Regions from separate parts of the Homo sapiens genome. Here regions 1 and 2 are each linked to region 3. The links are contacts of gene promoters, found by promoter capture Hi-C in human tissues and cell types (Jung and others, 2019). All regions are on one chromosome and are shown on one strand. Each heading gives the region's core, a stretch centred on a gene start or on the middle of the fragment in contact. The rest is flanking DNA. Distances are from core to core; before and after follow the strand shown. Region 1 has its middle 11 kb from the start of KRTAP9-2. Region 2 holds the start of KRTAP9-4 (keratin associated protein 9-4). Region 3 holds the start of KRT20 (keratin 20).

What was found. Contacts are between HindIII fragments. The study calls those that stand out against the background at their distance.
Region 1: a fragment that was not itself captured here is called in contact with the fragment with the promoter of KRT20 in region 3 in 2 of the 25 tissues and cell types used here (mesenchymal stem cells and spleen).
Region 2: a contact is called between the fragment with the promoter of KRTAP9-4 here and the fragment with the promoter of KRT20 in region 3, in 3 of the 25 tissues and cell types used here (H1 embryonic stem cells, IMR-90 fibroblasts and mesenchymal stem cells).

The regions. Positions count from the first base shown.
Region 1 is chr17:41,214,442-41,217,309 of GRCh38, forward strand. No RefSeq gene overlaps it. Among named protein-coding and RNA genes, the nearest start is that of KRTAP9-2, 11 kb to the right of the region's middle. The HindIII fragment of the contact is 7,634 bases long and covers 1-2,868 here.
Region 2 is chr17:41,248,370-41,251,226 of GRCh38, forward strand. KRTAP9-4 (keratin associated protein 9-4) reads left to right here and starts at 1,318. Exons shown (of 1, transcript NM_033191.3): 1 at 1,318-2,284. The coding sequence starts at 1,352. The coding sequence ends at 1,816. RefSeq lists an enhancer at 1,045-1,599. The HindIII fragment of the contact is 7,447 bases long and covers 1-2,857 here.
Region 3 is chr17:40,883,748-40,886,512 of GRCh38, forward strand. It overlaps KRT20 (keratin 20), which reads right to left and starts at 1,495. Exons shown (of 8, transcript NM_019010.3): 1 at 1,049-1,495. The coding sequence starts at 1,438. The region is part of intron 1 of LOC105371777 (a long non-coding RNA gene); the gene reads left to right. The HindIII fragment of the contact is 3,526 bases long and covers 1-1,906 here.

The sequences.
Region 1 (2,868 bases), core at 130-2,629, 330 kb after region 3:
TCACATAGAAGCCTCAAACTTGGACAGAACCAAGATGAGTAAAGTGGCCTGCATCGTGTCATGTAGCTAAGGATGGACAGAATTGGCTCTAGGCTCAGGGTTTCTGATTTCACCTCTACTGATGTCACATTTACAGAATTATACTAAGGACTTAGAACCGGGAAGGGGTGCACTCGAAGTTGTTCTCTGACAATGGAAACACCAATTCCACGCATTTGCAGACCATTTTCTACTAACAAAGTTCTTTCCAAATTCATTCCCCTAACCAATAGCCACATCTTAAGAGCAACAACTCGTTTTAAGAGCCCTCGTGAATCATGTGAACATTTTATATTCTCAGTCTCTTGTCAGGCACTGGTGAAGTTCTTTAAATATTTTTGAGCACCCATTGTGTTCCTGCCTCTGTCCTGGGACTTTGGTGTGAGAGGCTCATCTAGAAATACTTGTTTGTTGAAATAATGGAATTGGCATTCTGTTTGTCCTCATTCTTCTGGTCACCTAAATAAATGGTAATAGAAGATTAAGTCATGGCCCAAAAAACTTAGGCCACATTTCATTTGCACCCAAACTTTGAGAGATAATTTGTTTTCACATCAAAACTTTTTATTCCTGGCTTACTGTTTTTTTATTGTGGTAAAATACACATAAAATTTACAATTATAATCTTTATTTATTTATTTATTTTTGAGATGGAATTTTGCTCTGTCACCCAGGCTGGAGTGCAGTGGCACGTTCTCAGCTCACTGCAACCTCCGCCTTCCAGGTTCGAGCGATCCTCCTGCCTCAGCCTCCCGAGTAGCTGGGACTACAGGCATGTGCCACCATGCCTGGTTAATTTTTTGTAGTTTTAGTAGAGATGGGGTTTCACTATGTTGGCCAGATTGGTCTCAAATACCTTACCTCGTGATCCACCTGCCTCAGCCTCTCAAAGTGTTGGGATTACAGGTGTGAGCCACCGTGCCCAACCACAATTATAATCATTTTTACATATACAGTTCAGTGGAAGTAAGTACACTCATGTTGTTAGACAACCATCATCTGTCTCCAGAAATTTTAAAAAATTTTTTAAATTATTTATTTTTTATTTTATCAACTTTTATTTTAAGTTCTGGGATACGTGTGCAGGATGTGCAGGTTTGTTACATAGGTAAATGTGCCATGGTGGTTTGCTACACAGATCAACCCATCACCCAAGTATTAAGCCCAGAACCCATTAACTGTTCTTCCTGATGCCCTCCCTCTCATTGCCTGCAACAGGCCCCAGTATGTGTTGTTCTCCCACCCCAACGTTTGTCCATGTGTTCCCATCATTCAGCTCCCACTTATAAATGAAAACATGTCATTTTGGTTTTCTGTTCCTGTGTTAGTTTGCTGAGAATAACAGCTTCTAGCTCCATCCATGTCCCTACAAAGGACATGATCCAGTTCCTTTTTATGGCTGCATAGTATTCCATTGTGTACATGTATCATATTTTCTTTATCCAGTCTACTCTTGATGGGCATTTGGGTTGGTTCCATGTCTTTGCTATTGTGAGTAGTGCTGCAGTGAACATATGCATGCATGTATCTTTATGATAGAATGATTTCTATTCCTTTGGGTATATATCCAGTAAAGGGATTGCTGAATCAAATGGTATTTCTGGGGATGGTGCTATCTGGTCCAGCTACTATGCTTTTCTATGGTCTTCACAACTCACAGACCAGGAGATTCCCTCGGGTGCCTACACCACCACGGCCCTGGGCTTCAAGCACAAAACTGGGTGGCTGTTTGGGCAAACACCAAGCTAGCTGTAGGAGTTTTGTGTTTTTGTTTTGCTTTGTTGTTGTTGTTGTTGTTTTCATATCCTAGTGGTGCCTGGAATGCCAGCGGCACAAAACTGTTCACTACCCTGGAAAGGGGCTGAAGCCAGGGAGCCGAGTGGTCTTGTTCAGCAGATCCCACCCCCAAGGCACCCAACAAGCTAAAATTCACTGGCTTGAAATTCTCGCTGGCAGCACAGCAGTCTGAAGTCGACCTGGGACACTCGAGCTTGGTGCGGGGAGGGGCGCCCACCACTGCCAAAGCTTGAGTAGGCAGTTTTCCCCTCACAGTGTAAACAAAGTTGCCGGGAATTTCGAACTGGGTGCGGAACCACCTCAGCACAGCAAAGCCACTGTGGCCAGACTGCCGCTCTATATTCCTCCTGTCTCGGGAGGTCATCTCTGAAAGAAAGGCAGCAGCCCCATTCAGGGGCTTACAGATAAAACTCCCATCTCCCTGGGACAGAGCACCTGTGGGGTGGGGCAGCTGTGGGCACAGCTTCAGCAGCAGACTCAAACGTTCCTGCCTGCGGGCTCTGAAGAGATCGACTGTTCTCCCAGCACAGCGCTCAAGCTCTGCTAAGGGACAGACTGCCTCCTCAGGTGGGTCTCTGACCCACATGCCTCCTGACTCCTCCCAGCAGGGGTCAACAGACACCTCATAGCGGAGAGCTCCGGCTGGCATCTGGCAGGTGCCCCCTGGGACAAAGCTTCCAGAGGAAGGAGCAGGCAGCAATACCCAGGCAAACAGGGTCTGGAGTGGACCTTCAGCAAACTCCAGCAGACCTGCAGAAGAGGGGCCTGACTGTTAGAAGGAAAACTAACAAACAGAAAGCAACAGCATCAATATCAACAAAAAGGATGCCCACGCAAAAACCCAATCCAAAGGTTACCAATATCAAAGACCAAAGGTGGATAAATCCAAGAAGATGAGGAAAAACCAGCACAAGAAAAGGCTGAAAATTCCAAAAACCAGAATGCCTCTTCTCTTCCAAAGGATTACAACTCCTCACCAGCAAGGGAACAAATCTGGACAGAGAATAAGTTTGATGAATTGACAGAAGTAGG
Region 2 (2,857 bases), core at 68-2,567, 360 kb after region 3:
CAGGGCAGTGCTAGTAAATTAATATACTCAGTAAATCTCCTGAGCTATAGATATATTCTGCTACACTATATGGCTTGAGGGTAATTATCCCTCACCAAATAGTAACTACTTTCTCTGTCTGCTGCTTTGCTTATATGAAGAGTCCAAAATGACTAGGCGATAAAGATTACTTTTGTTTATGCCAAAGAAATAGAGAAGCAAATACTATACTTTTTATTCACATGAAAACTTTAAAAAACCAAAAATTACCTACAGGATTACAACTGATAGAGTGATTAGCTGTCTTTGGGAATGAGTAAGAGCATATAATTGGGAGAGAATGGAATTAATTTCTATTTCCTAACATAGATGTAATGGGGACACAGATGTATTTACAATATAATACTATATCAAGTTGAAAATTAATAATTTGCATTCTTCTCAAATGAATGGTATACCTAGAAAATGTTTTAAACATGTTAGAACTCCATGATGAATCAGGCATCATCTCAACTCATCTAATTCCTTCATTAAAAAGAAATAGAGAGAGAGAGAGAAGACATGCTGCTTACTGTGCTAGTAACCGGGTTGCGACTAGAGCCACAGCACATGCTGGTTGGCCTGAATCTCAAGCATTTATGCCATAGAGAGTCCTACATTCTCATTCTGGAATCGCCACGCTCACAGACAAGTCAGAATGAATGGTCACTCAGGGCATAGATTACTTGATGCTGTCTAAATCCCAGTGGATTTATCTGCATCCACCTGCTCTCGATCTGCTCTGCCACATGGAACACACTGTGACAAACACCCTCTTCCCAAGTGATGTTCAAAGAACTGAAAGACAGGTGGTGTGGGTTGCACAGAGAGATGCCTGCTAGTCTTGAGTCAGAATTTGGTGGGTGACTAGTCTTGGGCCCAGGCATGGATTCATTTTGTCACTGTAAATATATCAGCATCATGCTTCTCCCCACAGACACTTCCCAGTCTACATACAGCCAAACATGAGGCTGGCCAGAGAGAACTTCCTGAGCCTCCCAGATCAACAGGAACTATCACATGACCAGATGATGGTCAGAACAGGAATGATGCTGATGATGAGATTGCCTTCCTTTTATCTGAAACAAAGTGTCTATGAGTAATTCACAATTAAGAAACAGATTAAACCTTAATCTGTTTAACCTTAAGGAAACAACTACCCTTTGAGAATCACAAACGGACTGGGAAAACAATGTAAACGGAAACAAGGAAAAGTCCTGCTGATTGGTGGAAACTTTGGAGGCCAGGTGTATAAAAGGTCCAGATTGCAAGGGGTCATCAGATTCTGGGAAACTCACCTCTGAACAGAAGCCCACCCTCTACCCCTGACACCATGACCCACTGTTGCTCCCCTTGCTGTCAGCCTACATGCTGCAGGACCACCTGCTGCAGGACCACCTGCTGGAAGCCCACCACTGTGACCACCTGCAGCAGCACACCCTGCTGCCAGCCCTCCTGCTGTGTTTCCAGCTGCTGCCAGCCTTGCTGCCGCCCAACTTGCTGTCAAAACACCTGCTGCCAGCCCACCTGTGTGACCAGCTGCTGCCAGCCTTCCTGCTGCAGCACACCCTGCTGCCAGCCCACCTGCTGTGGGTCCAGCTGTGACCAGAGCAGCTCCTGTGCACCTGTGTACTGCAGAAGAACCTGCTACTACCCCACAACTGTCTGCCTGCCTGGTTGCCTAAACCAGAGCTGTGGCTCCAACTGCTGCCAGCCCTGCTGCCGCCCAGCCTGCTGTGAGACCACTTGCTTCCAGCCCACCTGTGTGTCCAGCTGCTGTCAGCCTTTTTGCTGCTGATCAAGTCCCAAGAGAACCACCATCCTCACACAACAACTTTCTGCTCAACTGACTTATCTTTTGGGGGACTAATTTAATTTGCTGCTGACAGCCACCATGCTCTCACCCAAATTTTTATGAATTCTCTACCTGTTTAAAATCTTGGGAATCTACTTGAGGGAGGGCAGAATACTTCATCCTGATTCTCTTTTTCCTTACACTTTGTGGATCATGTGCCAGCTTCGTGTGTTCTCAATTTTGAGTCATGGTCTCAGCTTTGACTCAAAAGTCAAGAGCTTCATTCTCTGCTTCTAAGGAATTTAGGTTTCTGCAACTGATCAATAATCTTTGCAATCATATTTTTGTTTTCAATATCCTCCTCATGGTTCTTGTATCCTTCTTTCTTCTTTTCATAACTTTGGGTTATGTTTCTGCTACCAGCAGAGATTCTTAGCTATATGTTTCTGAATAAACTCTGAACCATCCTCATCTCATATGGTGTTTTGTTTTATATGAAAGCATTCCTGATATGAGATTTACACACATATCACATACCATAGGTATTATCCAATTTGATTCTCAAAACAGATGGTCGTGTGTTATTACCTCCATTTTTTCAGCTGAGAACAATTTAATGTGTGATGTTATGTAGCTAGTAAAGGGCAGACTCTTGTCCAAGCTGAGGTCCTCTCTTTCTGCCCAAGGACACTTACATTTAACTCTCAATATAGTAGAAATGACATTGGAAGTAAGTATTAGCAAGTCATATACTTGAGTTTTTTTAACAATAGGACAAATAATCTCTTATATTTGCAGATAACGTTTTTGTTTACAAAAAATTCCCAATTTCCCACACCTCAGTGAGAAACAGCTGCGTGATATGGCAGCAGGGACTGCATTTAATGGCTGCCCTGAATGCAGGGAGCTCTTTTTGTCTCAGCCTCTGACCAGCCACTCATTCAATTCATCTACATCAAAAAAAGCTTGGGAATTTATTGTGGACTCATGAGAGAGAGTCTCATCTGAAGAAACTTGTTGTCAATATCATGTAAATAAAATACT
Region 3 (2,765 bases), core at 245-2,744:
GAGTCAGAAACACGAGACAGGTGTGGTTCGAACATTTTTAGTGAGAGCTTGCGAAGGATGAACTTTATTCCGGAAGGGCTATTTAAATGCCATTGCTTCACATGCCCATAGTTTCTAAAATTCCAAAGTAACTTCCCATGGAGTCCGAATCAAATTGCCCTGATGTTTAGTACAACTCAAGAAAAACAGACTTGCTGGTAAGTAAATGCGCTTTGCTCTAAAGGAGTATGAATCTTAACACAAATTACAGTGAACACTTTTCTTAATTAGATAAGAACTTTAATTTGAAGCAAGTGCTCTGTGTCATATCTGAAATTTTCAATTAGGAGCAAAGTCTTCTGCTTTTATTCCATGAAACTGATAAAATACAGAGCTCCACCCTTTTTTTGATGACATAGGAGGAGGTTGTGATATGATTGTAATAAACATGAATTGGGGGCAATAGAACATTTTATTACTGTAGAAGTAGTTTCTGAACTGCTTGATGCTGATGGTCATGTTATTAAACAGGGCACTTAAAAATCCAGGCATCATTAAGACCCATATTCCTGCCACACTGTTTCCACCCAGAATCACTTTGCTATTTAAATCTGCAGTACAGTATTCTAATAGTCATATTATAACATTTACTTAAATAAAAGGAGAAAAGTCTTTGAATTTACTGGGGTTTCAAAACTTGATAAGGACTAGGTGAAAAACTAAGAGAGATTTATCACGTAATTAATTTTTAGCTCTTTTCAGAAAGATTGTTCACTATACATTTAGCCCTGATGTGATAAGCTGTGACAAAGATTCATTTTATTCCGGAGGATAAAATGTTCATATTTTGTATGTAATTGTGTTAAACATTAAAAATAGCATGATTTAAGGTCATCCTGTTGTACAGTCAGGTACTCCAGCACTAAAGGTAGATGAAAGAATTTTTATAGATGTAACATTTTAGCCTAATTTGCTTTACAAAGTCCATTTGGACCTACCTAACATAGATAACCTCTTGATTTATCTTGAAGCTAAACACAGAGTAGGAAACACAAGCATCATCTCTCACCTGACTTCGCAGCTCTTCAATTTGTCTGTAATATGCACTGTAGTCGCGACCAGCCCTCGGGGCGTTGGTTTCGTACCACTGCTTGATTTGCACTTCAAGTTTGGAGTTGGACTGCTCCAGGGTCCGCACCTTTTCTAGGTAGCTCGCTAGACGGTCATTTAGGTTCTGCATGGCCATTTTCTCATTGCCAACAAACAGGTCCCCGCCGCCTGTGAGATCGCTCCCATAGTTCACCGTGTGTCTGGAGTTGGAGATGCGGATGCCCCGGCCTCCAGCACCCCCATAAACGCTGGGTGTCGTCCCGAGGCGCTGCATGCCCACTGTACTGACTACAGGGGCCTGCAAGGAGGAGCTCAGGCTTCTGTGGAAGCTTCTGCGACTGAAATCCATTGGAGATTCCAGGAGGGAGCACCTGTAGCTTCAGGATGGTTGGGGCAGAGTGTGTCTCATGGAGGGTGTTGAGCTAGCCTTTTATGAAGTCCACAGGCAAGAAACTCCTCCTCTGCTGACATGTCACTAGGATTGGCACCACAGTCCACCTTGCCTTACTTCCACGCCCCCCGCTTTGTATAGCAATATGTTAATATGCTTAATTCAATTCCAGAAAATACCACTAGAGGCATTTCTTGGAGGCTTTTATCAGGGGCAACTTTTTTTTTTTTTTAATTAAACAGGTAATAAAAGGAAACAGGAAAGTGTATTCTTTTAGCCCATGCGCCTGCCTTGGCAGGTTTTTTTCATCCTAACATACACACAAAGAATATTTACAATCCTCATGTATAATTTAGGTATCTAAAAAGGCAGATGTGCCTACATAACTGAAAGTCACAATGGAGATAAAGGACAATGTTTGATTTGTATTGAGGAGTTGCTCTTCAGAACCTCTGTTTCATGCTTTGCTTGTGTTTGGCTTTTAAGTTTATTGTGTTTTGGACATCTTATTTTATAAGACTATTAAAATATTTTGTACAAACACAAAACCTCGAATCCCTAAACCAGGAATGAAACCATTGTACATTTGGAGATGTAGTTTGGGGATGTGAATTAAATGAATTTAGCTGAGTGATGGATTAGATGATTTGGGAGGTTATTTTCTTTCTATTTCTAATGTTCTATGACTAAATATTGCATTTTAGGTTTCCAGTCACCACCTGGCTTCAAGTCCTGTTACCAAGACACTTAGAATAAATCACACAGTGCTTTGTACCTGGCATGGTATCAGGATGGGTCTCCTCTTTTGTATGAGGCCAGCTTAACACCCACCATGAGACAGACTCTGCCCCATCCATCCTGAAGCTACTTACAGGTGCTCCTTCTAAAGTCCCCAGTGGATTTCAGTTGCAGAAGCTTCCATGGAAGCCTGATCTTCCTTGTATGCCCCCATAATCACAGCGAGAGTGGCTGTTTATATAGGAAGGGGTGCAGGCGGGGACTTGGGACTACACTCAGCTTCCAGGGTTGGGCTGGAGGCAGCTGCTTGTGTGTGGACCTCTAGACACATGGGCATGATCTCATCGGTGGGAATCTGATTGTAAGCAACCAATAAATGCCTGAGTCACTTGCTTCCCTTCATTCAAACCCCCTGGCTGAGAATTCACACTTCCCATGAAGCATGTAAATCACTTCCTTAGTTAATTAGATAATCACTAATTAATATAATTAGATAATCAGTTAATCACTTCCAAGTTAATTAGAAGGGATTGGAAAAGTCACTAAA